Regions from separate parts of the Homo sapiens genome. Here regions 1, 2, 3, 5, 6 and 7 are each linked to region 4. The links are contacts of gene promoters, found by promoter capture Hi-C in blood cells and fetal thymus (Javierre and others, 2016). All regions are on one chromosome and are shown on one strand. The core of a region is centred on a gene start or on the middle of the fragment in contact, and the rest is flanking DNA. Distances in the headings are between cores, read along the strand shown. Region 1 overlaps ATP8B4 (ATPase phospholipid transporting 8B4 (putative)). Region 2 holds the start of LOC102724587 (a long non-coding RNA gene). Region 3 overlaps GALK2 (galactokinase 2). Region 4 holds the start of FAM227B (family with sequence similarity 227 member B). Region 5 overlaps ATP8B4 (ATPase phospholipid transporting 8B4 (putative)). Region 6 overlaps GALK2 (galactokinase 2). Region 7 overlaps FAM227B (family with sequence similarity 227 member B).

Region 1 (3,486 bases), core at 339-2,838, 380 kb after region 4:
AGTTAATGATGTTGAGCATCTTTTCATGTGCTTATTTGCCATTTGTACGTCCTCTTTGGTGAAATGTCTCTTTTATGTCATTTGCCCATTTTCAAATGGGATGGTTTGTTTTTTTACTATTGAGTTTTAAGAAGTTTTTTTAAAATATATTCAAGATACAAGTCCCTGGTCAAATAGATGGTTTACAAATATTTTCTTCCAGTCTGTAACTTATCTTTAAGTCCTCCTAACAGGAACTTCTGTGGAACAAAAATTTTTAATTTCTTGAAGTCCAGTTTATCAAAGTTTTCCTTTTATGGATTATGTTTACTGTGTCAAGTCTAAGAATCTGACCAGACAGCCCTAGATTTCAAAGATTTCCTCCTATTTTTTTCCTCAAAGCTTTTTATACTTTACATTTGAAATCAATTTCTGTAATACTTATAGAGCTATTCAAATTATCTATTTCATATTAAGTGTATAGTCTTTTTTTTGAGAAAGTGGTCCATTTCTTCTAAATTGTCAAATTTATGTGTGCACAGTTGTTTGTAGTATTTCTTTTTTACCTTTATAATGTCTTCAGGATCTATACCAAATTTCCATGGTTCATGCATAATATGCTAATTTGTGTCTTCTCTTTTTTTTTCTTTTATCAGTATTCTTAGAGGTTTGTCACTTGTATTGATGTTTCCAAAGAACTAGCTCTGTGTCGTTGATTTTCTTTATTTTTTTTGTTTTCAAGTCTATTTATTTCTGCTCTTATCTTATTATCTCCTTTCTTATGCTTCTTTGGGGTTTATTTTGCTGTTTTCTAGGGTTTTTAGATGAATGATGAGATTATTTATTTGAGAATTTTTCTCTTTTCAAATGTATGCCATAAATGTTCCTCTCAGAACTGTTTTAGTTGTGTCTGAACTGTTCTGTCCAAAGTAGGGTCCCACAGACTAAAGTACTATTTGAATAGCTCAATATGACAATAATTTGGAAGGCACCAGTTAAAACCATGGACTCTGGTGTCAGACTGCCAGGTTCGAGTCCTGGCTTCACTCTTCAGATGCTTTGGACAAATTACCTAGGCTCTCTAAGCCTTGATTTCATTGTCTGTACAATAGGGCATAATTACATAGCACCTACATCAGGATTAAATGATAAATTCCATCTAAAGAACACAAATACATAGTGTCATTAAAATGTAAGCATTCAATAAATGTTTTTATGCCAGACAAACTAAATCCTCTGAAACAGAACTGCTATATGGTCTATAACTAAATTCTAAATTAATATCAACATCAAAACTGCATCATATTCTGTTTCTCTCTTCTTTTTCTATGTCTTCATTTGACACAGTTCCAAAAGGTTGCCTTTTAAAGTAACATCAGTCCTTCCTTCCCTCCTCAAGGAATCTTGATCTCTACCCCTCTCATTTTCCCTATAAAATCACTTGAAATCAAAACAAGCAAAAACTTTTTTTAAAAAATCTAAGGAATCTTACTGAAGATTCTCTGTGTAAAGTTATTCCTGTATATAAGTTTCGCTCACTGTTTCTGCAAGAAAATAAATTTAAGAGAAAAAACAGTTTCAAAATTACTGTAGAGTAATTAACTATGGACTTTGCAATGTAAACTCCTATGTCTCCCAAGAAGATACTGAACAAGGTTAAGTCTTATCTCTAAAGACATTACTTTTAAATAAATTAAAAACCAACCAAATTATTCTAATTTTAATAACTTACCCATCAAGCTCAGCAGTTTCAACATAACAGAGACCATGTGGCTCACTACTTGATAGGAGAAGTAAATCAGCCTATTTTCAAAAATCATAACAAAAGAATACTTGAGAAGTTAGATTGGTTGAAAGTCTTCTACAGTATATCACCTCTTGACTACTAAAGAGGCAACAGAGCCTCAGAAACAGAGTAAAAGAAGTGAGATCCTGTTCTACCTCTATGTCATATGCCCTGAACCAAACCCTCCCTCTTCCCTGTTCCTCCTTTATATGCCCCTTGACTATCACAACATAAGCAAGGAAAGGAGCTATCATATGAATTAATAGCCACTTGATTCACCTTTTTTTAATGAAACATATAAATTCTATTTTCTTGCTTTGATAATTACTAACATAAAACTCTCTCCAATAAATAATTGGAAATATATGCACAAACTTTAATTACCTAGTGTCATCAGTTAAAAGCAGGGAGCAGGCAAAGGAGATGGGGAAAAGACAGAAGGGAAATAGATGGAGGAAACTGAAAAAATAAAATAAAAATAAGAGGGGCAAGGAAGTTAAGAAAGAGATAAAGATGGAAAGAAAAAAGTAAAAGATGGTAGGGAGTAAGAAAGAGGAGAGCTAAGATAAAGTAGGGACTAAGGAAAACAGCAAGACAGAAGAGAAAATGTAGTCAAAGGCAGTGGGAAAAAATCAGATACTGAGTAGTTTGGATTTTTCAGAGATAAACAGTTCTATTCTGATGTCCAATTGAGCTTTGCATATCACCTATCACAATTCAGTTTTAGCATCCTGGTAGCTCTCTAAATTGGCAAAGTGCTTATTGATTTTATTTCAAAGCTCTAAACTTATTTTAAAAATAAGTGTTTTTATAAAATTTTGAAGGGTCTGAATGTCTAAAAAGAATTGGCTTAAATTTTAGCAATTTAGTTTGAGACATTAGCCTAACAATTTTCTAGCTATGTCTGAATGTATGATTGGCATTCCAAATCTGTGATATTTTCTTACCTTTATTTTTAAAAACATTAGAATTGCTTTGTTCTTGAATCTTGGGGGTTAAATTTAGAATCAACTTACTTTCTTGATTGTCTCAAGCTTTTAAATTTGCAACTCAAAAATAGGGTGTGCATGTGTGTGTGTGTGTGTGTGTGTGTGTGTGTGTGTGTGGTTTTGTCTAAACTGGGATAAAACAGAGCTGGGGAAAAATACCCTGTGACGGCCCCTAAAAGAATAAGTGGGTTTGCATTAGCAAGGCTCTTACACAACTCTGAATCAAAGAGCCACAGAAGCTTGTTGAGGCAGAAATTCTCTGACTTGTCACACTGTGAACAGAGGAAAGCCACATAAAGAAAGTGATGCCGCTCTTGGGCCAAAAACTACCCATCCTGATTTTAAAGGAAAAAAAAATTTTTTTTGAAAATTCACCTTGATCTTATTTCCCACATTCAAATTTCAATGCATAAAACCAGGCACAAGGCACTAAACAGCAATAGAGCTTAACAGTCAGTCTATGGGCCTGCACCTCTCCTCCCCTGGGCTTAAAAGGCTCATGTTAAACAAAATCCAAAATTCTCTAATCCTAAGAATCTGTGATTGAATATAGAGAAAGATGCCTATTTGTACCCAGGGCTGCTTTTCTTTGAAACTCGAATCCAGTGTTACTGTTGAAGACTGGGTGGGGCTGCACTGACACTCACACCATGGTAAACAAGGGGTGGAGTCCCTGCACACAGCTGGCTAGGAACATGTGACTGAGGCGCCACTGCCATCTGGCGGTCAGAT
Region 2 (3,701 bases), core at 388-2,887, 260 kb after region 4:
AGATTCATGAGAGGTCACACAGCTCGTAAGTAGCAGAACCAGGGCTTGGTTTGAGCCTAGCTATTTGGCTTCAAATTGAAGTTTCTTTCCTACACTCTCCTGCAGGCTGTCAGAAGCATTCGTGCTCCCAGAATTCCAGCACATCATGTGCAGCCAATGGGCCCCAGAAGTTAATTGTCAAGGTAGTGAGTGGTAGTGACCAGGAGATGACAGCAGAGAGCTGTGGAGTCAGAATTGTCAAATCAGAGCTCATGACTTTGGAGGGAAGTGAGCAGGAAGAAGAGAGCAGGGAAAAGGGGAAACTGCATTTGGGATTCCAGGTGAGAAGGAGGCTGGGATGAGGATCCTACCCAGTGAGAATTTTAACAGCAGTTACCAGGTGTTCAGGACAAAGAAAGAATATAGACAGAATGAGAAGGTGGCACATTTGACACCAACCAGGTCCCAAGAGAAACTAAATGCTTATCAAACCTAATGTGCACACAAATCGCCTGGGAAACAGATTGTGATTCAATAGGGCTGAGGGCCCAAGACTGCATTTCCAGCCAGCTCCAAAGTAATGCTGATAACCACAGTGAGCACCAAAGCCAAATGCCAAAAACCAAAAAGGATGGCAAGAATCAACCACAGGGGACATCAGAGGACCACAGGTGGAGGAGAAGAGGCGAAAGTGGAAGCAACACAGGTGGTGAACTATTGTGGGAGAGGAACATTCCCCTTCCTGCTTGTGGGATGGCCCAGGTCTCTCCAAACAGAGTCCCATGGAAAAACACAGGCATATTCTCTTTAGAAAGTCCTGTTTTTAGATGCTTTTGGATGCTTGTTCCCCTAGTTCAGTGACTGAGGGTTATGTGCGCAGGCTTTGAAACAAGACAGTCATGAGCTCAATCCCTGGTAACGGGTTTAGCTGGTGTGTTATCTTAAACCTGTTACTTAATCCGCCTGAGCCTTGGTTTCCTCATGCCCAGAAATGCAAACAATAACACCTCCCACATGGAACTATCGCCATGATTAAACCAGTATGTAAAGTATTTAGTAGAGTTCTTGCCACATCGTAAGTAATAAATATGCCAGATGCTTCTATAAATAACAATTAATAAAATAATGATAATAACAACAATAGCAATAATGTAGCAACCTCAAAGTTAAGAGGCCTGGTTCTAGTCTTAGCCGTGTCACTTATTGGCTGTGTGGCTTTAGGGAAATGACTCTCCAAGGCTTGGTTTCTGCCTTAAAAAATGAGCAGATCTGTTGATGATTGCTGAGGCCTGTCCAGCATAGCATTCCACGATCCTGTGATCAGTTTAAGGGCCAAGGTTGACAAAGCAGGAAAGGAGAGAGGAGCAGACACTCAACTTGATGGTAATAGGAAGCCTTATTATATTTTTTTTGAATTGCACAATAACCATCTTTTCCCAGAAACTGCTTTATTTTTATTATTTTATTCCACATTCTGGGCAGCTACAAAGCTCCAAGAAAAGAAACACTTGTAAACATGGGCGCTGAGAAATGAATGTGCTTAATCCTTTACATCTAAGGTCTTCAGAAGTTCATTACTTTTTTGTATAATTCCAGAAAATATGCCTTTCGCAAACTGCCCTTTTTACATATGAGAAGGGAGACTTAACAACTGACTACAAAGCCAGCCAAATGGGAGACTGGAGTGAGCTCATAATGTGAAGATTTATATTTTGCAATAGACGGCTTTGGCCCAGAAAATGAGGCCTAGCAAATAGGTCTAACAACAGCCTGGAGAAAATGTGGTCTCCTTAAAAATACTTTTTTAAAAAACAAAAAGTCTTTTTAAAAATAAGACACTCTAATTGTGCCACGGAAATTCCACTGGCTAGTCTTTCACTTCCCCACAGGCAGCCAGACTTTTTCCCCTTTCCAGGAAGTCCCTTCCAAGGCTCTGAGTATGCCAAGGATCTACCATTTTTGTGATTGATCCTCTCCTTTCTCCCCACTCAAGCACATTGATGCTGGGACAAAAGAAATCCATGCTCTTTCTTTCCTTGGCCATGGAGCTTCTCATCCTCCTCTCCCACTGGCAGACTGCTCTACTGGTCTGTGGCTCCTGTTCTGGGCTGTGTGTAACAAGGAAGTCTCACTGCAGATGTTCGCAACAAGGGAGTCTCACTGCAGGTGTTAGCCCCCTGTGTTCCAACCTAGCCCCATGATTTTCTATCATTGCATGGTTCTTTATAAGCTCTCAGAGGCTAAGGCAGCATTTCCCCGTGTGTGAACCACAGACACTAGTTCTGAGACATATTAATTAATAGGTGCTATATGAAAACATATACAGTCATAGAAGTTTGGGAAATGCTGGGTTAAAATGAAGTTAAAGAGATTACTTCGTACAGGACTTCTAGAGCCTTTAGAGCAATCTATGGGGTGTGAACCTCTAAGAGAAGAGTAACCAACTTTTATCAAATAATGCTTTTGGGGAAGCTAGGGTATAGGGGTAAGGGAGGCACAGTGGACCTGGAAGCATGTGTGATCCATGCAAAAGCAACTAAAACAACTGCATTCCTAGGGCTGCTACTTAGAATTGTGTTTTCTACTTAGAACCCACAAAAAACTAAAAGGCATAAAAGAGAAACTAAGTTATAAAGATGGAAAAAAAACATACCTGGTCAAAAATCCCCATGGCTAAAACAGGCAGTGATGTGTAAACAATGTTAAAAAGGGTGATGAACCACTGGTCATAAACAGTCTGAAAAGAAATATAACATATAAGTGAGAAACATCATCCATAGTAGTGAGAATATTCACATTTAGGTTAAATAACCAGGTTTTCTGAGGTGGGTGGGAGTTGACTTTTGGAATCAGACAAATATGAATTCTTTCCTAGACCTGCCTCTTATCAGCTCTGGTGCCTTAATGGGATACTAGATCTCTCTAAACGGCAGTTTCTTTATCTCTAAAGTGATGTATACCCTTCCTGCAGTGTGGCAGTGAGGACAAAATAATACATGCAGCAGTACCCCTAACATAGTGCGGGACACGTATGAGCCCCTGACCTTGTGGTGGGTTGCCATTTTATTCTCCAGGTTTTCAGTGGCTTATAATGAGTCCAATTATCTGATCCAAGTGGTAAACAAAGGATTCACTAAAATCTTCAGAGATAAATATAGTAATAAGCCTGTTATTTCTATCCTGTGTTAAAATGGAGAGGTTTTTGCGGGGGAGTGGTTTAAAGCAAGATGGGCATAAATAGCAAAACAACAAAAATATCCCCTCACACCTTTGTAGACTAATTACACAAGAATTCCCTGCATGGGCCTCACTAAAAGTCAATGAGGCATGTGAAGCAGGCATATATCCCCATTTTGCCTATGAGTACACACAGTTGTGGAAACAGAACCTTTCGGTTACAGAGCTTATTATGGGCAAAAGCAAAAATTAAAATCAACTTAATTAGTTAGAAGGTAGTAAGTGCTAGAGAGGAAAGGGGATAGGGAATGTGGGAGGGCTGTAATTGTAATACAGCAGATTGAAGAAAGTCTCACTGAGAAGTGAATTTGAGATAAGACCTGAAGGAAATGGATCTAACATGCAGCTTTCTGAAACAGCTGGAAATGCTGGGACGTGCAGCATTCTATACTGCAAGTAGGCCCCATGAAACAACCCTAAGGCAAGAAAGCATCCACTATGCTCAGAGAACAGCAAGGTGGCCCAGTTGGGTAGAGCAGAGTGAC
Region 3 (3,652 bases), core at 484-2,983, 390 kb before region 4:
TGGCCCAGCTGCGGGGGAGAGTGGGGTTGCTTTTACTGGCAGCAGTCGTAGACAATTGGCTGGGGAGCATGCACTTTGGCTCCAGGTAGTGGCTGCAGGTGGGGTAGCGTTTCCTCGGGGCACTTGAAAATCCATGGTGGCTCTGCTGCTGTGAATACCAGGGTTCTGCCAGTGGCTCATGGTTTGGCCTCAGCAGTGCAATGGAAGTTGCTGTGAGTGAGGGAGTCTGTATTTAGGGCTCGTGAAAATACACAGCAGTCCCACTGCTGGGAGTATTGTAGTTATTGCCAGTGGCTTACATTTTGGCTCTGACAACAGCAGTTAGCACTCGTGGTGTCTGTGGGTAGGGGACATCAGAGAGGTTGCAAGGATGTGGAGACAGGAGCTGTTGATCCCCATGGCAGGATGCGGTCTAGTAGAGTCTGGGATCTCAGGATAGTGATGTGCAAGTTGCTTAAGACTTGGGGGTGTGTGGAACCCAGCATGAATTTCCTCTTTGGAGCAATGCCATCATGTGATTTCCAAGTAGTTCCTCTGTCAGTCGCATGGTCCTAAAGGGTTGAGGCGCTCTCCTATGGCTAGGATTGCAGGAGTCCTTGATAGTAATGTGGACCACTTGGGGTGTTTCTCTTGCCCTTTACCCACGCTGAAGAGCCTCTCCAGGCTCCCAGCTGATTCTGGCTGAGCAGGCTGCCCTGATTTCCTCTCCTTCCTTGCCTTAGGTGTTCCTTGTCACTTCTTGTTGAATTCAGTGTTCTCTCTTACATGATCTATTCTAACTATGATTGTCAACTTGTTATTTTGGTTCTTCTTTATGGAGGAGGCAAGTACCAGATGCCTACAGGCATTCTTCTGTGCCTCCGACTTCATATTTTTTTTGATGCTACTCTTATTATAAATGGTCTACCCCAGATCCAGACACACACAGGTGTCTTATAATGGTCTACCTACCCCAGGTCCAGACACACACAGGGTAGACACTGGGCAGATGTTTCTTTGAAGAACAAGTAAATGAATAAAATATGTAAGTGGAAAGTATTAATGTAATAATGGGTCATGTCTGCTCATTTTCAGGATTCTTTTCTCAGAATTCTACAAACATGGAAGTGGGGGTAGAGAAAGCAAATGGATAATGTAATGCAGGGTTGAGAATTGGTGGGAAAATGAGTGGTTTTGAACCTCAGGAAAAGGCTAGGTAGAGAGGTGAGATAGGGATGTGGGAAAGAGCAAAGATCAATAACTAATCAAAAAGCAGTTTTTTTTTGTTTTTTTCTGACAGACTTGAGCCATACTTCTAATTCTGTGGGAGCTGGCACTTTTCAGTTTGTATTAGTCCATTCTTACACTGCTATAAAGAAATACCTGAGACTGGGTAATTTATAAATAAAAGAGGTATAAATGGCTCATGATTCTCTACAGGATATACAGGAAGCATGGCTGCGGAGGCCTCAGGCAAATTACAAACATGGTGGAAAGCAAAGGAGAAGCAGGCATGTCTTACATGAGTGGAGCAGGAGGCAGAGGGCTGGGGGCAGCTACACACTTTTTACACAACCAAGTCAAGTGAGAACTGTATCACGAGAAGAGTACCAAAGGGGGAAATCCACCTCTGTGATCCAATCACTTTCCACCAGACCCCACTTCCAAAACTGGGGATTATAATTTGACATGAGATTTGGGCAGAGACACAAATCCAAACCATATTATTCTGTCCCTGGCCCCTCCCAAGTCTCAGGTACTCACATTCCAAAATTCAGTCATCCTTCTCAACAGTCCTCAGAGTCTTAACTCATTCCAGCATTAACTTACAAGTCCACAGTCCAAAATCTCATCTGAGACAAGGCAAGTCCCTTCTGCCTATAAGCCTGTAAAATAAAAAATGGGTTAGTTATTACTTCCAACATACAGTGAGGGTACAGGCACTGGGTAAATACTTCTTTTCCAAAAGGGAGAAATTAGCCAAAAGAAAGGGGCTACAGGCCCCATGTAAGTTTGAAACCCAGCAAGGGAGTCATTAAATCTTAAAGCTCCAAATAATCTCCTTTGATTCCACATCTCACTTCCAGGGCACACTGGGGCAAGGGGTGGGCTCCTAAGGTTGGGAAGCTGCACCTCTGAGGCTTTGCAAAGTAAAGCCCCTGAGGCTGCTTTCATGGGCTAGTGTTCATGCACCTGCGGCTTTTACATGTGCATGGTACAAGCTCCTGGTTGATCTACCATTCTGCAGTCTCGAAGACAATGGCCCTCTTCTCACAGCTCCACTAGGTAGTGCCCCAGTGGGGCTCTGTGTGAGGGATTCAACCCCAGATTTCCCTTCAGTACTGCCCTAGTAGAGATTCTCCATGACGGCTCTGCTCCTGCAGCAGGGTTCTGCCTAGACATTTAGGCTTTTCTACACATACTCTGAAATCTAGGCAGAGGCTCCCGAAGCCTTAACTCTTGCACTCTGAACATTGGCAGGCTAAACACCTCATAGAAACACCAAGTTTTATGGCTTGCACATTCTGAAGCAGCAGCCTGAGCTGTATCTGAAGTCCTTTCAGCCACCCCTGGAGGCAGAGGGGTCAGGATATGGGGAGCAGTGTCTTGAGCCTGTGCAGGGAAGTGGGACCCTGGTCCCTGTTCATGAAACCATTCTTCCTTCTTAGACCTACATGCCTGTGATGGAAGGAACTGCTGCAAAGGTTTCTGAAATGCTTTGAAAGTCTTTTCCCCTTTGTCTTGGCCATCAGCATTTGACTATTCTTTACTTATGCAAATTTCTGTAGCTGGCTTGAACTCCTCCTCCAAAAAGGCCTTTTCTTTTCTACCACATGGCCAGCCTTCAAATTTTTCAAACTCGTACACTTTGCTTCCCTTTTAAATATAAGTTTCAGTTTCAGGTCATTTCTTTGCTCACGCATATGAACATAGGTTGTTAGAAGCAGCAGGCTATATCTTGACTGCTTTGCTGCTTAGAAATTTCTCCTGTCAGTAACCTAAACCATCACTCTCAAGTTCAAAGTTCCACATACCCCTAGATGCCTCCAGGCTCTTTGTTAATGCATAACAAAAATGACCTTTACACTAGTTCCCAAGAAGTTCCTCATTTTCATCTGAGACCTTCTTAGCTGGGATTTCATTGTCCATATCACTATCAGGATTTTCAAAGCAACCGTTCAACAAGTCTCTAGGAAGTTACAAATTTTCCTCATCTTCCTGTCTTTTTCTCAGCCCTCCAAATTGGTCCAACCTCTACCTGTTACCCAGTTCCAAATGCAAATTCACATTTTCAGGTATCTTTATACCAATGCCCCTGTCCTTGTTACCAATTTTCCATATTAGTTCATTCTTGCACTGCTATAAAGAAATACCTGAGACTGAGTGATTTATAAGGAAAAGAGGTTTAATTGACTCACAATTCTACAGGTGTACAGGAAGCATGGCTAGGGAGGCCTCAGGAAACTTACAAGCATGGTGGAAGGCAAAGGGGAAGCAGGCATGTCTACATGGCCAGAGCCAGGAGGAAGAGAGAGAGGTGGGAAGTGCCACAGACTTTTTAAATAACCAGATCTAGTGAGAGCTCTATCATGAAAACAATACCAAAGGGGGAAATCCACCCCCATGATCCAGTCACCTCCCACCAGGTCCCACCTCCAACACTGGGGAATCA
Region 4 (3,503 bases), core at 499-2,998:
GTCCTAGAAGGCAGCAGAACCATTAAAAATAAAAACATCTGGCCTTGAATTTAACATTTCGTCTGCCTAGAAATAGCCACAATGGATCTTTTGTGAGGAAAAAAAAAAGTGTATTAAACCACCGATATTTTGGGGTTTTCTGTTACAGAAGTAAATTCACTATGCTGGTTTTAAAACATGGACAAGAAATCTTTGCCAATCCTTTGAGAAGAGGGATCTATGTCTCCTTTCCTAAAATGGAACAGGACTTTGACACATTTGTAAGCAAAAGAAAGTGGGGGAAGTAGCACCGCGTTACTTTTTGAGGCAAGGTCAGAAAAGGTCAGGCAATTTTTGCCTTGTTCATTGCAACACTCCCTTTGGAGCTCTGAGTTTAAGCTAAGAAGTCTGACTACCTTGCTGCCATACTGTGAGGAAACCCCGGCCATATAGTTACAGAAGCTCTGCTAGCATGCCCACTCTAGTCTTTCTAATTGAGTTACCAAAGAAAAGCTGATGACTATGCCCTATTGACAACACCACCTGTGAACATAATAAAATGGTTGTTTTAAGCCACCATATTTTGGAGTAATTTATTACATACGATAGCAACCCAATGCTCAATCTAACAAGTAGTATTATTTGCTTTTTAATCTGTGCAATTTAACTACTTTGATAAAATTTAGAGTTAAACTAAAAAGGAAAATGGTTGTGAATTCTTCTTGGCTTATAGACTTTGCTATTCTACTTTCCCTACCCAGAAAATTCACCTTTCTCCCTAAATCACTGGCTTTCAAACTTTTTAAGGTTTGAAATACAGTAAGAAATACATTTTACAAACAAGCCCTAGTGCACACATACACGCATATATACAATTAAAAGCTCCATAAAGCAGTACTTTACTAACTAACACTAAATTTACTTACATGCGCTGATATTTCCAATCTATATTGTTTCTTTTTTTTAAGTTTAAAGAGATTTCCTTGCTTACAAATGGGTCAAGACCTCCACTAATGGGTCCCACACAATCCCCTTTCCAGTTGAAAAACACTGTCCTAAACCTAAATCATTCTTCAAGGCCTTACCCAAGTCCGAAAAAGAAGCCTTTATTGACCACTCCATTCTCAGCTTTCTTGAAATTCCTGTAATTTATTAAATTCCATTTTTTATCTCAGTAGTAAGAATATTGCATTTTCTGTACTTGAATTTAACATGCTTTACTTGATATCGTGAGCACTTCTAGGGCATTGTAATGTCCTTTATCTACCACTTGATAAATTCAGAGTAGTCAATAAAACATTGCTCAACATTTGACCATTGTGTTTTAAAATCTTAGTTGTTAGAGTGCACTTCCGTTTGCGCATTGTTTGGGGAGAGGCACGGACAAATGTTCTAATAACTTATCCACATATTATACTTCAAAGTGGAAAAACACAAAGTACTCTTAACTCTATATGCGTGTTTTTATGCAAACTAAATCATTAAGATACAAATGATTTTTCTAATAGCTTTCATTACCACACAGCACACGAAATAATGATATTGATATAGCCACGAAAGACTAATGTAACCAAGTTCTCACAATCAAAATATCTTTGAGGTGGGCAAAATGCAAACTTTTCTCTGGGATCAACATTTCTTCACAACTCACTGCAACTACGCCTTGACAGTATGTTTCGAGAACCGCTTCCCAATTTTGTTGTCCCAGCAAGAATCGGGAGGAAACTGGGTGAAAGGCTGCGAGGCTTGAGGCGGGTCCCGGACGAACGCGGCCCTGCCCCTCGCCGGAGCCTCTCGGGAGAAGTGCGACACCGCCGCTGATTGAGAGGCTGAGGCGGAACTTCCCGTCTAACCCCCCCCCCGCTGTCGTCCCAGCCTGTTGCTTAAGCCGCGCGGTGTGCGGTGTGCGCGGCCCCTGCCTTAGCAACGACGCTAGTAACTGCCTGGCTCCTCCCTCTGGTGTCTCCCGGAAAGCGCTCCGTCTGGTCCGTGCGCGATCACGGCCCGGCGCGTGGCTCGGGCTCGGGCGGAGCTGGAGACGTGTGGAGCTGTTCGAGGACTCGCGGGTGTGCAGGTCTGAGTACCACTCCGATCCCTGGTGGAGGTCCCCGCGCCTCTCTGGAGACCAGTGGTCTGGCCCCAGAGGTGCGGCCGCGGGAAGTGGACATTCTTTGTCAGGACCCTAGCGGAGGTCGCGCTGGGTGTCGCCTGTGAGGGGGATCCTCGGTTTCTGCGCGGTCTCTTGCTTTTTTTAGGATCTTGCGGGCCCTTTGGGAAAAAGGTTTCCAAATTTTTCCTCAAAAAAAAAATTATTTTTCCTACCAATGATTTTCGGTGCATTCCGCCCCAACGAAAAGTATGTCCTGGCAAAGTCAGTTCCCTAGGAACCCCATACTTTATTTTATTTTATTTTTAGTATTTGGAGTGGTTTGTGGGGGTTTGGTTATCACGGAAGGGGAAGCGTAGTACAGACGTAGAATTAGTGATGCCATGCAGTGTATTTAAAATATTGAGGTTGTGGTTACATAATAAGCAAAAGAGCCTGTTTCTTACGTCTAAATTATTTATTGGGAATGTAGGACAAATAAGGAAGTATATTAACATTTTCAGTCGCCAGGCCCACAAAGTTGGATGGTAAAATCAATACTGTAGATCGCAGCATGTAAGGACTAACCCAGTGCACCATGAAAACGAAGGCAAGACAGTTTGTTACCATATGGCGGGTGGTGTGGGAGAGGCCATTGATCCTATATGAAAAAGGGTACTACTACCTTGGATTATGAAAAATGAATGTTGGACCTGTAGGTCCTATGTGACCAAGTTCTTAAAAACACTCTAAAGAAAATTGGAAGTGGTTTTTTTCTAATACTGAATTGGTCCACAATATAGGACAGGGGAGTCTGTATAGTGTTCCATTGGGAGGTGAGTCAGCTTACAATAATGGAAGAGGTAGAAGCTTTTTGTTATTATTTTGGAGAAAAAAAAATTGCCAGCCTGCCACTTGTGCTAGGCTGCAGACGGCCCATAAAGGTAGTTTGTCAGATACTTCAGTAGTGAGATGCTTACTGGATGTGTTTTGCAGAATGGTTTTGATTTAGTTAACAAGTGTTTGTTGAGTTCCTGCTGTTGCATAAGAATCAGGAATAGGTGAGATCAGGGAAGGAATCTGCTCTTACAGAGTTGAATGCTGGAGGGGATAGATTCACTAAAGTACCTCCACAATAAATGCATTTTTCCATGTCAAATATGTGGAACTAATAATAAGTACTCAAAGAGGTTTAAGACATTGCTGTGGCCCATCTATGAGTTAATAAGGAACTGAATTAGAATCCTGACTTTGAGAGTGAAGATAGAGGATTATATACAAGGTAGATGCAACTTGGTGAGTATAATTAATTTGGGGTGGAAATTGGGTAGAAGGAGGAATAAAAAATTAATGTATTTTTAGCCTTAAGTTCCAGAATGATGGACGCACCATCAAGGTGTTAAAATTGTTAGTTCCTTAGGAACAGTCTTTATGTTTT
Region 5 (3,873 bases), core at 973-3,472, 430 kb after region 4:
CTCTTCTTCATAATTTTCTTAATAACATTTTCTTTTCTCTAGCTTACTTTATTATAAGAATACAGTGTAGGCCGGGCGCGGTGGCTCACGCCTGTAATCCCAGCACTTTGGGAGGCCGAGGCAGGTGGATCATGAGGTCAGGAGATCGAGACCATCCTGGCTAACAAGGTGAAACCCCGTCTCTACTAAAAATACAAAAAATTAGCCGGGCGCGGTGGCGGGCGCCTGTGGTCCCAGCTACTCGGGAGGCTGAGGCAGGAGAATGGCGTGAACCCGGGAAGCGGAGCTTGCAGTGAGCCGAGATTGCGCCACTGCAGTCCGCAGTCCGGCCTGGGCGACAGAGCGAGACTCCGTTTCAAAAAAAAAAAAAAAAAAGAATACAGTGTATAATAAATATAACATACAAAATATGTGTTAATCAACTGTTTATGTTATTGGTAAGGCTTCTGGCCAACAATAGGCTATTAGTAAAGTTTTGAGAGAGTCAAAACTTATACATGAATTTTTGACTGTACAGGGAGTTGGTGTCCCTAACCCCCACATCATTCAAGGATCAACTATATTTGACTTTGTAACTCCTAATATAATGACAAGAATGTATAAGAATACCTAATATTTACCAGCTCTCAAACCTTAAACAAAGACATGTGATAAAGAATAAGTAACACTTCACTGAGTGAATGCAGGTTGATTTCCAATTCTGCTCTTCCACAAATTGGTTGTATTATTAGCAAATCACTAGCTCTTTCTGGGCTTTAGTTTTCTCATCTATAAAAGGAGAAAGTGAATCTAGTTACTGAAGCCTTCTTGCTTTTAAACAGGCTCTGGTTTTACAGCACCTGTATTAATCATCAAACAAATAGTAAAATAGCTTTATATGATATTAACCAAAATAACTTCATTCAAAATTTCAAATGTATCTTCATTATCTATTTCTGAGAAGCCACAACTGAAATTGAGACCTCAAGAATGCTCAAGAGCAAATACTCACATAGTCATCTGTGGCATCTTTGACAGCTGTCATAGTTATCACCAGGACCAAAGGCACAATGGTGGTAAACCAGGTCAAGGAGGAAATTTCTGGAATTAGCTGAAACAAACATTCCAAATAGTTTAGGGCTTTTAAAGTTAGAAAATATATCTTCCAAACTGTGTCATTTAATTTCAAATTAATGGGGTTATATTGACTTATTTGTACAAATGGAGAATGACTTTCAATAATTTAAGTGTTTGTATTTGGTTATAAGACACATAGAGTAGAATTATTATTGAACTTGTTTTCAAACTACCTAACCAAAAACTGAAATTTTTATAGCAAGGGGAGAAGCTTCTTGAAATCTCTCACAGATGATCACTTTCTCCAATATGTTAAATTTCACCCATCTTTTTCTGCTTTTCATCTCAACTTTTAACAATTTTACCAACTCCTCTTTTTACCAATTCCCAAAGAGAGATTGTTTGAACATCTGCCTTGCACCAGACACTGTGCCAGGTACTTTCCATTTATTACATCATTTAATCCTCGGAAAAGTTCATTGAGTTAGATTCCTACTAGGATTGTTTTTGTATAATCCCAGAAGGTTTGTATTCCACATAAATAGTACCCCCAGTACACAACACAGAATACTACATTATGACGGGTGACCAGGAGTCAGGAAATGTTGCAGACCTGGGTATCATGTCCCAATTTTATAAATGAAGAATCTAACAGGTCATGCAACTGGGCCAAGATCACATACTGTTAAAATTTGAAACTAGGTCTCTTGGACTCCAAGCCCTATTCCCTTGTGCCCATACCTCCAAAGCCACCCACATAAGAGAGACATAGTGACAGTGGACATAAATCTCTTAGGTGGTTTTCAAATGGGATTCATTTGAAAATCTGCTGCTTCGGGGCCATCAGGCAGGAAAGGATGGGGTAGAGACGGTCAGTGGCTAAAGATCAGGCCCCATCAAAACAACTCTAAATCAATTTTACATAGCAGCTTCCATGTAAGATTTTTTAAAAAAAACTCAAAAGCCTCTGATGTAGCAGTAAAAATGTTGAGCTTGGTGTCAGAAAAGCTAAATTCTAGTCCTAGTTCATCATCAACTCATGGTGAAAGCTTTACCACCTAATCTCTCTGGGTCTAATTTCTTCAGCAATAAAGAAAGGAGAGGTTAGACTGAACCATCCCAAAGTTCCCTTCTAAATATAAAATTCTATGAACAAGAGCCTTTGGCCACAAATGAGAAAGCCATTAGAGAAATGAATTCAAAATTCTGGAATGGTGTGAAGTGTTACTTGAAGAAACCAAAAGCAACTTCATGGGGAGAGGTGGGGGGAAGAAATTTGGACTCTAAGCTTTCTTCAACAAATAGTAAGATGTTTATTCATTGTTTGTTTTTGTTTTCCTGATCAGCACCCAGTTCTTCTCAAATATACTCCTATTTCTTAGGGAACCATCATATCCCCTCACTTTCTGTCCACATAACTTTAGGAAACTGATTCCACCATGGATCCAGGGTTTGGCATATGATCTTGGTTAAGCCAATTACTGGATCAAACTCTTGAGCCACAGTGACAGGTTTAGGAATGAAGATACAGCTCCAATCAGAACTAATCTCAAGACTTTTGCTGGAGCAACAGAAAAAGTAATTCCTTCATTCGTTTTCTCTCTCTCTCTTTCTCTCTTTCTCTCTCTCCCCCTCCCCCTCTCTGCCCCACTCTCTCTCTCTCTGACTTGAGTTGAAACCAGGAAGCTGTCAGGGCCACCAAGTAGAGGGCCTACCTAAGAAAGGCCAATGTGTGAAAACAAAAACAAAAACAAAACAAAACAAAAACAGAGAAAGAGAAGCCACATCCTGATGAAATTGTGCCCATGAATCCAGTAATACCTGAAATGAGATACCCATGAATAATTTATCTTTTGCTCAAACTAATTAAGATTTCTGTCACTTGAAACATATTCTTAAATAGATATTCAATTAAAGAGAAAACAGTACTCAAATCTATTAATCTAATCCATCTTCTTACTTCTTAGCCATTCTTGACCTACCAGTTTGATCTGCTTAAAGTATGCTAACATAAATACTAGGTAAATAACTGGCTAACATGAACTATTTATGTGTGTGTATAGTATGTATGTGTACAGTATATATGTAGCTTCCTTGATTCATATGTTTTTCCTTCCCAAAATATCCATAAAAGCTGAAATTTCATTTAAAGGCAAATTTTAGTTAGGAGAAAAAGCAAAGGTTACTAAATACCAATTAACCATTCAAAACTGTAAAAGTAGTCACCTACAGTGAAATAACATATAGCATCATCACTTTATATATATTAAAAATATGTCACTGTTCTTAAATGAAAATGAAATGTGCAGAATTAAGCTCTGCAACCTACTCAGTCTTAGTCACCTAAGATTCTGCCTCAACTCTGGCAATCCCCACACTGTAGATGTGAAAGGGAGATAAAGAAAGGAGGGAGGCTGTGAACAGTAATTATTAGGCTCTGGTTTGGTTCAAATAAAGTGCAAGGCTGTGTTTTAAAGTGACCTCAGTGTTTAAAATGATGAATGTACTACTTTTTAACCATTCCTACCTCTCCCACGTTTGTGAAAAGAAACAGCAACAACAAGATTAAAAATCTGATAAAGGATGATTGTACCTAATCACGAACATTTAGCTAAGTAAATTGACTTACTTTTTACAATTTTATGAATACTTTAAACAAACAGATAATAGAGAAATACAACCTAAATATTACCTGTAAAATCAGAAGGCAAAGAAAATAGGCATTTGCCACTCTTTGGAACTGTTCAAATAAATTAATTGGCAAGAAGGTGAGAATATTATATTTCGATGTGTGGATACGATTATCCTGGAAAAGAA
Region 6 (3,756 bases), core at 966-3,465, 300 kb before region 4:
TTAGCCGAGCGTGGCGGCATGCGCCTGTAGTCCCAGCTACTCGGGAGGCTGAGGCGGGAGAATGGCGTGAACCCGGGAGGCAGAGCTTGCAGTGAGCCGAGATCGCAACACTGCCCTCCAGCCTGTGGGACAGAGCAAGACTCCATCTCAGGTAAAAAAAAAAAAAAAAGAAAAAAAAAAAAAGATGTCTGGAAAGTAATGAGGCAAGAAGGAGGGGTTCAGAAGAATGCAGAAATTAGTGGGAATAAGATAAAGGATGGATAAAGGATGGGGAAGACAGACGGTACAAGAGTAGCAGGTAGTAACATGGGGAAAGGTTCGAATGAACAGTGGAGCTACTTGTAAGCCCTAGTTCCTTCTGAAGCCTTGTGACTGTCTCACTGGGTCAGGCAGAGAAGGTGTTGGACATACTGGAAGGGGTCCTGGCAAGGCCTGGTGTGAGCCACTGGTGCCACAGACACAACCTCTAGCAAAGTATTGCTTTGTTTAAAAACCACCACCACCTCCACAATTACCCTGCCACCATTAAAAATGTTAACATCAGTAGGGAAGGTGTGACTAAGACTGGGCAGCCTGAGCAGGTTGCTTGTTTTCCCCAAAAGAGGGAGGAGGAGGGAAGCTGAAATGGGTTCAAGGAGGAGCACTGCCAAAAATAATCTTTACATCACCCTCCCTGGTCCACTTATGGCACTTCAAAATTCCTTTAGTGTTTCTGAAGGGCTTCTTGGAAACTATTTGTATGAAAAGACAACTAATTGAGTGAGTAAATTAACGGCTTGAATACCTAGAATACCTAAGTTGCTATACACAAGCAGAAAATCTTACAGTGATCTGAGCTAGACTGAATTAAAAAGGCATCTCCTACTTAGCATATAGGACAATGTATAGAACAACTTTGTGACCCAAGTGGAGAGAAGGGGGGTTGGGAAAGAGCACCACTGCTAGCTGTCTTTTTCAGTTGAACCTTTTCCTGCTCTTCAAGAGAAAATCAGTTTAGAATCTAAAGAAAGGAGCAGGGAGGATGAAGGAAACTATACTTACAGAGTGAGGCTTTTTTAAAAAATTAAATTAATGTTAGAACTTAAATTATATGAAACAAAGTAAATAATGAAGGAAAAAGATAATGTTTGCTGAATTATAAAGTATCTTTTGTAGCCAAACAAAATGTAAACAGAAAGAAATGACTAAATTTTAAGTAGAATTTACTGGAGAACACAAAACAATTTTGAAACCAAGTCAGTTATATGTGAGACAGCTCATTCACTATTGGTTCCCTCGTTTTACTTAAGACAAAATGGTTAATGCCTTTTGTTTTTGTTTTGACACTTGTTGAAGTTAGAGAGGATTAATTGCTGCATTATCGCCCAAGCTATTAAGGGAGATGAATGACAAATTTTAGTGGATCAACTATGATTACAAAAGTTAATTTACTTTGTCTTCCTCAGAAGTCTTTCTGCAATGTATTCCATGGTGAGGCTGCTCAGCCTCTCGCATCCATTCTTCAACAAGGTCATAATGGGGAAGAATGAAGTGCAAATCCATTGTTGCATGCTCTTTCCCCATGACCTTAAGTGCTAACATGCATACCCTGTCAAAAAAAAAAAAAGAGGGAGGGAGCCATTTCACCTCCCCTTAGGGGTTCACTTCTCTTTGGGCCTCTTTGACTTATGAATATACATGCCATTTGCAGGACCCAAACCCACTGCTCTTCAATGGCCTTTAAGTGGCTTACATTTCTAAAGTAGACATGTGGGCATATTTTCTTATCCTTTCTCATTTGAACACTGAAGGCTGTGGTTTCTTGACTGTAAAGCAATTTGAAGGCACGGTGTCTAACCTGGCTGTAAAAATCATAGAAACTGCTAGAAGTTCCCTTACCTGTGACTCTTGCCATTTCCCAGAGAGCAGAAGCTAGAAGTCTTCTCAAGTAAAAAAATACACTGCTGACTGCTTATATTATATATAATTTTTAAAATATTTTAAGGGAAATATCGTAGTCCAGCAGCCATTTATTAGAACCTAGAATTTCTAGAATTGTGCTGGGCTGGGGTCAGAGAGATGGATGTGACCTGTTCCTAAATTCTAGATTTCCTGAAATAATTTATTTCATATCCATTTGTATAATATATATTTACTTATTTAGAAAGAAATGACACAGAATTTAAATACAAGGCATAATTTCTTACCTTCCCTCTTTTTCAAGTGTGTAGTGCAGTTGGGTCTCCTGGATCTCCTCCCCACCCTCTCCATTGCTCTGTATCTTGCAACTTAGTAAGTGCTTTATGGTCGAATTAGTTCACTTAAAAGTAGGAAATTTGACTTTGGCTATATTGGGTGCCTGGATAGTTAATTCTGTGAATACACAAGGATCAAAGAGTAACATTCCTCATAATCTCCATCCCTCATCTGCCCTAGCCTTTGCCATCGTGCTTTATAAAGTAGAGGCTGCCTTTGTTGCTTTAACAAACCCTTCTACATTATTCCCAATCTAGTCATCACAATCATCAAAGTGGGATCCGAGGGATTTTAGGGTTTTGGTTTTTGTAATTCTTGTATTGCCTCTCTGATGTGCAATAGCTCAGGAGATATATTTTTAATGTTTTATTGTTCTTCCAGAAAAAGGCGCAAACATGAAAAGTTCACTAAACACCCTTGGTTCACTTACTTTTCTTTCTTAATTTAAAGGGTATATCGGTCTCCTAACTTTCGGTCTTCTCAGAATTTCTATGGCATATGCCAAAGGGCCTATTAAGTACCAGCAGGGAACACTGCAGACAGACCTTTCTGCCTTTATAAGTGTATACAGCTGCGCAGGCTGCTGACCAGCTGCTGGGGCAGCCCTGACTTGTGATCAGATGTGCCACTGACTTGGGGGCAGAAGGCTATTTCTAATAGCACTTATCATTCTTTATTTGGGAAATTTGAGCCCTGATTTCAGACCATGTGATTGATGCAATTCAGTCCATTTTCATCTGTAGCAGGCAGGGTGGTGACAGAGCAGCTCTGGAGACTCAGTAGCAAATATCTTTACCTACAAAGACTTCCAGCTTCTGCTCCCTGGAAACTAGTAAAAGTCTCAGGAAAATAGACCTCTGGCCCAGTTCCTATAGGTTTTACAGCCAGATTAAAAATAATACTCTGTTTGCTTTAGGTTCAATTTTGAAAAACCACAGCTTTCAAAAACTGTTCAAATGAGAAAGTATAATAAAATATGCCTTTTAGAAGTTGGATTGAGGACCCTTAAAGACTTGATAACTTGAGTCCAGCAAAACGGCATATTTTAGATCTTAGAAAATCAAGTAAGAAGGCACAGTATTCTTCTCTAGACCATGTCATGGCTGGCTTTAATGCCCATATTTTAGGGTCTTCCAGAGACACTTCAGTGACACCTCAGTTTTCCCCAGCATCTTCCACAGTAAGAGTTTGATACGACTGCATATGACAACCATTTTTTTTTTTTTTTTTTTTTTTGAGATGGAGTCTCACTGTGTCACGCAGGCTGGAGTGCAGCGGTGCAATCTCGGCTCACTGCAACCTCCACCTCCTGGGTTCAAGCAGTTCTCTGCTTCAGCCTCCTGAGTAGCTGGGATTACAGGTGTGCACCCGGCTAATTTTTGTATTTTTAGTAGAGACGGGGTTTCACCATGTTGGTCAGGCTGGTCTCAAACTCCTGACTTCATGATCTGCCTGCCTTGGCCTCCCAAAGTGCTGGGATTACAGGCGTGAGCCACTGCACCCGGCATGACAACCATTTTT
Region 7 (3,972 bases), core at 1,146-3,645, 260 kb before region 4:
TGTATGCATGTGTGATAGTGGGAGCATGTGTTTATAGTAACATTGTACTCATTATGACACTGCATTGAGTTCAGATTTTTCTAAACTGCAACAAAATGTGAATGTTTAAAACTCATGTTAGCAATACAGATATGGCTTATACACTTTTCTTTTTAACGAGACCCATACAGACTACACCAACATTTTGGCTCTGAGTTTTCAATTTTTTAAATAATTTGCATTTTGCATGTTAAAAAAATTATTAAATTTTTGGGTATTCTTTGGTTAGCTTAGTCTCAACACATAAAGGGCTTGAGGTGGCTTATAAAAACATAGACAAAGTATGAAGGGAGAATTAGCAGCTCTAAATACATTTTATCCAAGATTCTGCAGTTTAAAGATATACCATGCATTCAGCTCTAAATCCTAGACATCAAAGTTTTTCTCCTGTTTTACTCATAATTCAAATATCAAGTGACCAAGTTTTTAATAAAACTCCAAAGATCATCCAAAAATTATATTTAAATGTTCTGCTAATGAATTAGTGTACATTAACTAGTAAACAAGTTTATCATCCTTATAAATAAATATACATTTAAAATCATGTCAGAAGACATAAGCACTCCTGTGATGTGAAATTTCATTGACTCCCTCCAGTCCTCTCCATACATACCTCCAGTCTACTCAGTGTTTACATGTGAATCCTTACACATAGACAATAATGTCATCCTCCCTCTTGTGATTTAGGCAAATCACTCCTTATCAATAGAAATATTACCTGTGGGGTTGCGGAATAGGGAGGTTTTGGTTAAAGAGGACAAAGTTTCAGTTAGGAGGGATAAATGATAAGTATTTAAGGTGATGAATATGTTAGCTTGATTCAGTCATTCCACAATGTATACATATATCATAACATCACTTTTTACCCCATAAATATATACAATTATAATTTGTCAATTAAAAAATTAATTTAAAAAACTTAAAAAATATTACCTATGATGCAAATTTTTTTTTAACTTTTATTTTAGGTTCAGGGGTACATGTGGAGGTTTGTTACATAGGTAAATTGATGTTACAGGGATTTGTTGTACTGATTATTTCACCACTCAGGTAATAAGCATAATACCCAGTAGGCAGTTTTTTGATCCTCACCCTCCTCCTTCCCTCCTCCCTCAAGTAGGTCCTGGTGTCTGTTATTCCCTTCTTTGTGTCCACATGTACTCAATGTTTAGCTCCTACTTATTAGTGAGAACATGTGGTTTTAGTTTTCTGTCCCTGCATTAGTTCACTTAGGTTAATGGCCTCCAGCTCCATTCATATTGCTGCAAAGGACATGATCTTGTTAGTTTTTATGGCTGCACAGTATTCCCTGGTGTATATGTACCACGTTTTCTTTACCTAGTCCTGTTGATGGGCATCTAGGTTGAATTCCTTATCTTTACTATTGTGAATAGTGTTGCAATGAGCATACGCGTGAATGTATCTTTCTGGTAGAAAGATTTATATTCCTTTGGGTATATACTCAGTAATAGTATTGCTGAGTTGAATGGTAATTCTGCTTTCAGTTCTTTGAGAAATTGCCAAACTGCTTTCCACAACGGTTGAACTAATTTACATTCCCACCAGCAGTGTATAAGCATTCCTTTTCTCTGCAACCTCTCCAGAATCTGTTATTTTTTGACTTTTCCATAGTAGCCATTCTAACTGGTCTGAGATGGTATCTCATCGTGGCTTTGATTTGCATTTCTCTTATGATTAGTGATGTTGAGCATTTTTTCATATGCTTGTGGGTTACGTGTATGTCTTCTTTTGAAATGTGTTCATTCATGTCTTTTGCCCACTTCTTAATGGGTTTGTTTGCTGTGTGCTTGTTGATTTAAGTTCCTTATTAACATAGTTTGGCTCTGTGTCCCCACCCAAATCTCATGTTGAATTGTAATCCCCATGTGTTGGGGGAGGGTCCTGGTGGGAGGTGATTGGATCATGGGAGTGGATTTCCCTCCTGCTGTTTTCATGATAGTGAAAGTTCTCATGAGATACGCTGGCTTAAAAGTGTATGGCACTTCCCCCTTCACTCTCCTACCACCACGTGAAGAAGGTTCTTGCTTCCCCTTCACATTCTGCTGTGATTGTAAGTTTCCTGAGGCTCCCCAGTCATGCTTCCTGTTAAACCTGCAGAACTGTGAGTCAGTTAAATCTCTTTTCTTCATAAATTATCCAGGTTCAGGTAGTTCTTTATAGCAGCATGAAAACCGACTAATACACTTATAGATTCTGGACATTGGATCTTTGTCACATGCATAGTTTGCAAATATTTCTACCCATTCTGTAGGCTGTCTGTTTACTCTGTTGATAGGTCTTTTGCTGCGCAGAAGGTCTTTAGTTTAATTAGGTTTCATCTGTCAATTTTTGTTTTTCTTGCAATTGCTTTTGGCATCTTTATCATGAAATCTTTGCCATTTCCTACGTTCAGAATGGTATGTCCTAGGTTATCTTCCAGAGTTTTTTTAATAGGTTTAGGTCTTACACTTAAGTCTTTCATCCATCTTAAGTTGATTTTTGTATGTCGTGTATGGAAGGGGTCCAGTTTCAATCTTCTGCATATAGCTAGCCAGTTTCCCAGCACCATTTATTGAATAGGGAGTCCTTTCCCTATTACTTGTTTTGTCAACTTTGTCAAAGGTTAGATGGTAGTAGGTGTGCAGCATTATTTCTGAGCTGTCTCTTCTGTTCCATACGTCTTTGTGTCTGCTTTCATATCAGTGCCATGCTGTTTTGGTTACTGTAGCCTTGTAGTGGAATCTGAATTTGGGTAACATGATTCCTCCAGCTTTGTCCTTTTTGCTTAAGATTGTCTTGGCTGTTCAAGCTCTTTTTTGGTTCAACATAAATTTTAATATAGTTTTTCCTAATTATGTGAAGAATGTCATTGGTAGTTTGATAGGAATAGCATTGAATCTGTAAATTGCTTTGGGCAGTATGGCCATTTAAATGGTATTGATTCTTTATATCCACAATCATTGAATGTTCTTCCACTTGTTTGTGTCATCTCTGATTTCTTTGAGCAATGTTTTGTAATTCTTGTTGTAGAGATCTTTTGCTTACATGGTTAGCTGTATTCCTAGGTATTTTATTCTTTTTGTGGCTATTGGCATTGGGATTGCAGACTTGATTTGATTCTCAGCTTGGATGTTGTTGGTATATGGGAATGCTATTGATTTTTGTACATTGATTTTGTATCCTGAAACTTTGCTGAAGTTGTTTATCAGCTTAAGGAGCTTTTGGGCAGAGACGATTGGTTTTGCTACATATAGGATCATATTGTCTATAAACAAGGATAGTTTAACTTCCTCTGTTCTTATTTGAATGCCTTTTACTTCTTTCTCTTGTCTGATTGCTCTGGCCAGGACTTCCAATACTATGTTGAATAGGAGTGTTGAGAGTGGGTATCCTTGTCTTGTTCTGGTTTCCAAGGTGAATACTTCCAGCTTTTGATGATGTTTGCTGTGGGTTTGTCATAGATGGCTCTTATTATTTTGAAGTATGTTCCTTCAATGTCTAGTTTGTTGAGGGTTTTTTATCATGAAGGGATGTTGAATTGTATCAAAAGCCTATTCTGCATGTATTGAGATAATCTTATGGGTCTGTTTTTAGTTCTGTTTAATGTGATGAATCACATTTATTGATTTGCACATGTTGCATGAACCTTGTGTCCAAGAGGTAAAGCCTACTTTGTCATGGTGGATTTGCTTTTTGACATGCTGCTGGATTCCGTTCGCTAGTATTTTGTTGAGAATTTTTGCATCTATGTTCATCAAGAATATTGGCCAGATGTTTTCTTTTTTTATTGTGTCTATGCCAGGTTTTGATATTAGGATGATGCTGGCCTCAGAATGAGTTAGGAAAGAGTCCCTCCTCCTCAATGTTTTGGAATAGTTTCAGTAGGAATGGTACCAGCTCTTCTTTATATATCTGGTGGAATTCAGCTGTGAA

Evidence for each region. Contacts are between HindIII fragments. The CHiCAGO score rates a contact against its expected background, and 5 or more counts as called.
Region 1: a contact is called between a fragment that was not itself captured here and the fragment with the promoter of FAM227B in region 4, in 2 of 17 cell types (erythroblasts and megakaryocytes). The highest score is 6.1, in erythroblasts.
Region 2: a fragment that was not itself captured here is called in contact with the fragment with the promoter of FAM227B in region 4 in 1 of 17 cell types (M2 macrophages); the score reaches 5.2 in M2 macrophages.
Region 3: a fragment that was not itself captured here is called in contact with the fragment with the promoter of FAM227B in region 4 in 2 of 17 cell types (M1 macrophages and megakaryocytes); the score reaches 6.3 in M1 macrophages.
Region 5: a fragment that was not itself captured here is called in contact with the fragment with the promoter of FAM227B in region 4 in 1 of 17 cell types (M1 macrophages); the score reaches 5.3 in M1 macrophages.
Region 6: a contact is called between a fragment that was not itself captured here and the fragment with the promoter of FAM227B in region 4, in 1 of 17 cell types (megakaryocytes). The highest score is 5.2, in megakaryocytes.
Region 7: a contact is called between a fragment that was not itself captured here and the fragment with the promoter of FAM227B in region 4, in 1 of 17 cell types (megakaryocytes). The highest score is 5.1, in megakaryocytes.

What each region holds. Positions count from the first base shown.
Region 1 is chr15:50,000,442-50,003,927 of GRCh38, forward strand. It overlaps ATP8B4 (ATPase phospholipid transporting 8B4 (putative)), which reads right to left. Exons shown (of 28, transcript NM_024837.4): 8 at 1,712-1,782. Among named protein-coding and RNA genes, the nearest start is that of ATP8B4, 120 kb to the right of the region's middle. RefSeq lists enhancers at 3,165-3,354, 3,351-3,486. The HindIII fragment of the contact is 2,418 bases long and covers 380-2,797 here.
Region 2 is chr15:49,876,744-49,880,444 of GRCh38, forward strand. It overlaps ATP8B4 (ATPase phospholipid transporting 8B4 (putative)), which reads right to left. Exons shown (of 28, transcript NM_024837.4): 24 at 2,633-2,716. LOC102724587 (a long non-coding RNA gene) reads left to right here and starts at 556. Exons shown (of 3, transcript NR_187946.1): 1 at 556-685. The HindIII fragment of the contact is 4,518 bases long and covers 1-3,701 here.
Region 3 is chr15:49,229,745-49,233,396 of GRCh38, forward strand. The region is part of intron 3 of GALK2 (galactokinase 2); the gene reads left to right. Among named protein-coding and RNA genes, the nearest start is that of GALK2, 61 kb to the left of the region's middle. RefSeq lists enhancers at 1,832-2,503, 2,504-3,174. The HindIII fragment of the contact is 9,875 bases long and covers 1-3,652 here.
Region 4 is chr15:49,619,070-49,622,572 of GRCh38, forward strand. It overlaps FAM227B (family with sequence similarity 227 member B), which reads right to left and starts at 1,749. Exons shown (of 16, transcript NM_152647.3): 1 at 1,631-1,749. DTWD1 (DTW motif tRNA-uridine aminocarboxypropyltransferase 1) reads left to right here and starts at 1,979. Exons shown (of 5, transcript NM_001144955.2): 1 at 1,979-2,053. RefSeq lists an enhancer at 2,091-2,210. The HindIII fragment of the contact is 6,893 bases long and covers 1-2,933 here.
Region 5 is chr15:50,043,603-50,047,475 of GRCh38, forward strand. ATP8B4 (ATPase phospholipid transporting 8B4 (putative)) reads right to left here. Exons shown (of 28, transcript NM_024837.4): 4 at 3,749-3,862; 5 at 992-1,090. Among named protein-coding and RNA genes, the nearest start is that of ATP8B4, 74 kb to the right of the region's middle. The HindIII fragment of the contact is 239 bases long and covers 2,104-2,342 here.
Region 6 is chr15:49,322,808-49,326,563 of GRCh38, forward strand. The region is part of intron 9 of GALK2 (galactokinase 2); the gene reads left to right. Among named protein-coding and RNA genes, the nearest start is that of FGF7, 99 kb to the right of the region's middle. The HindIII fragment of the contact is 5,212 bases long and covers 1-3,756 here.
Region 7 is chr15:49,360,259-49,364,230 of GRCh38, forward strand. The region is part of intron 13 of FAM227B (family with sequence similarity 227 member B); the gene reads right to left. It also overlaps a transcript of GALK2 not described here. Among named protein-coding and RNA genes, the nearest start is that of FGF7, 61 kb to the right of the region's middle. The HindIII fragment of the contact is 9,554 bases long and covers 1-3,972 here.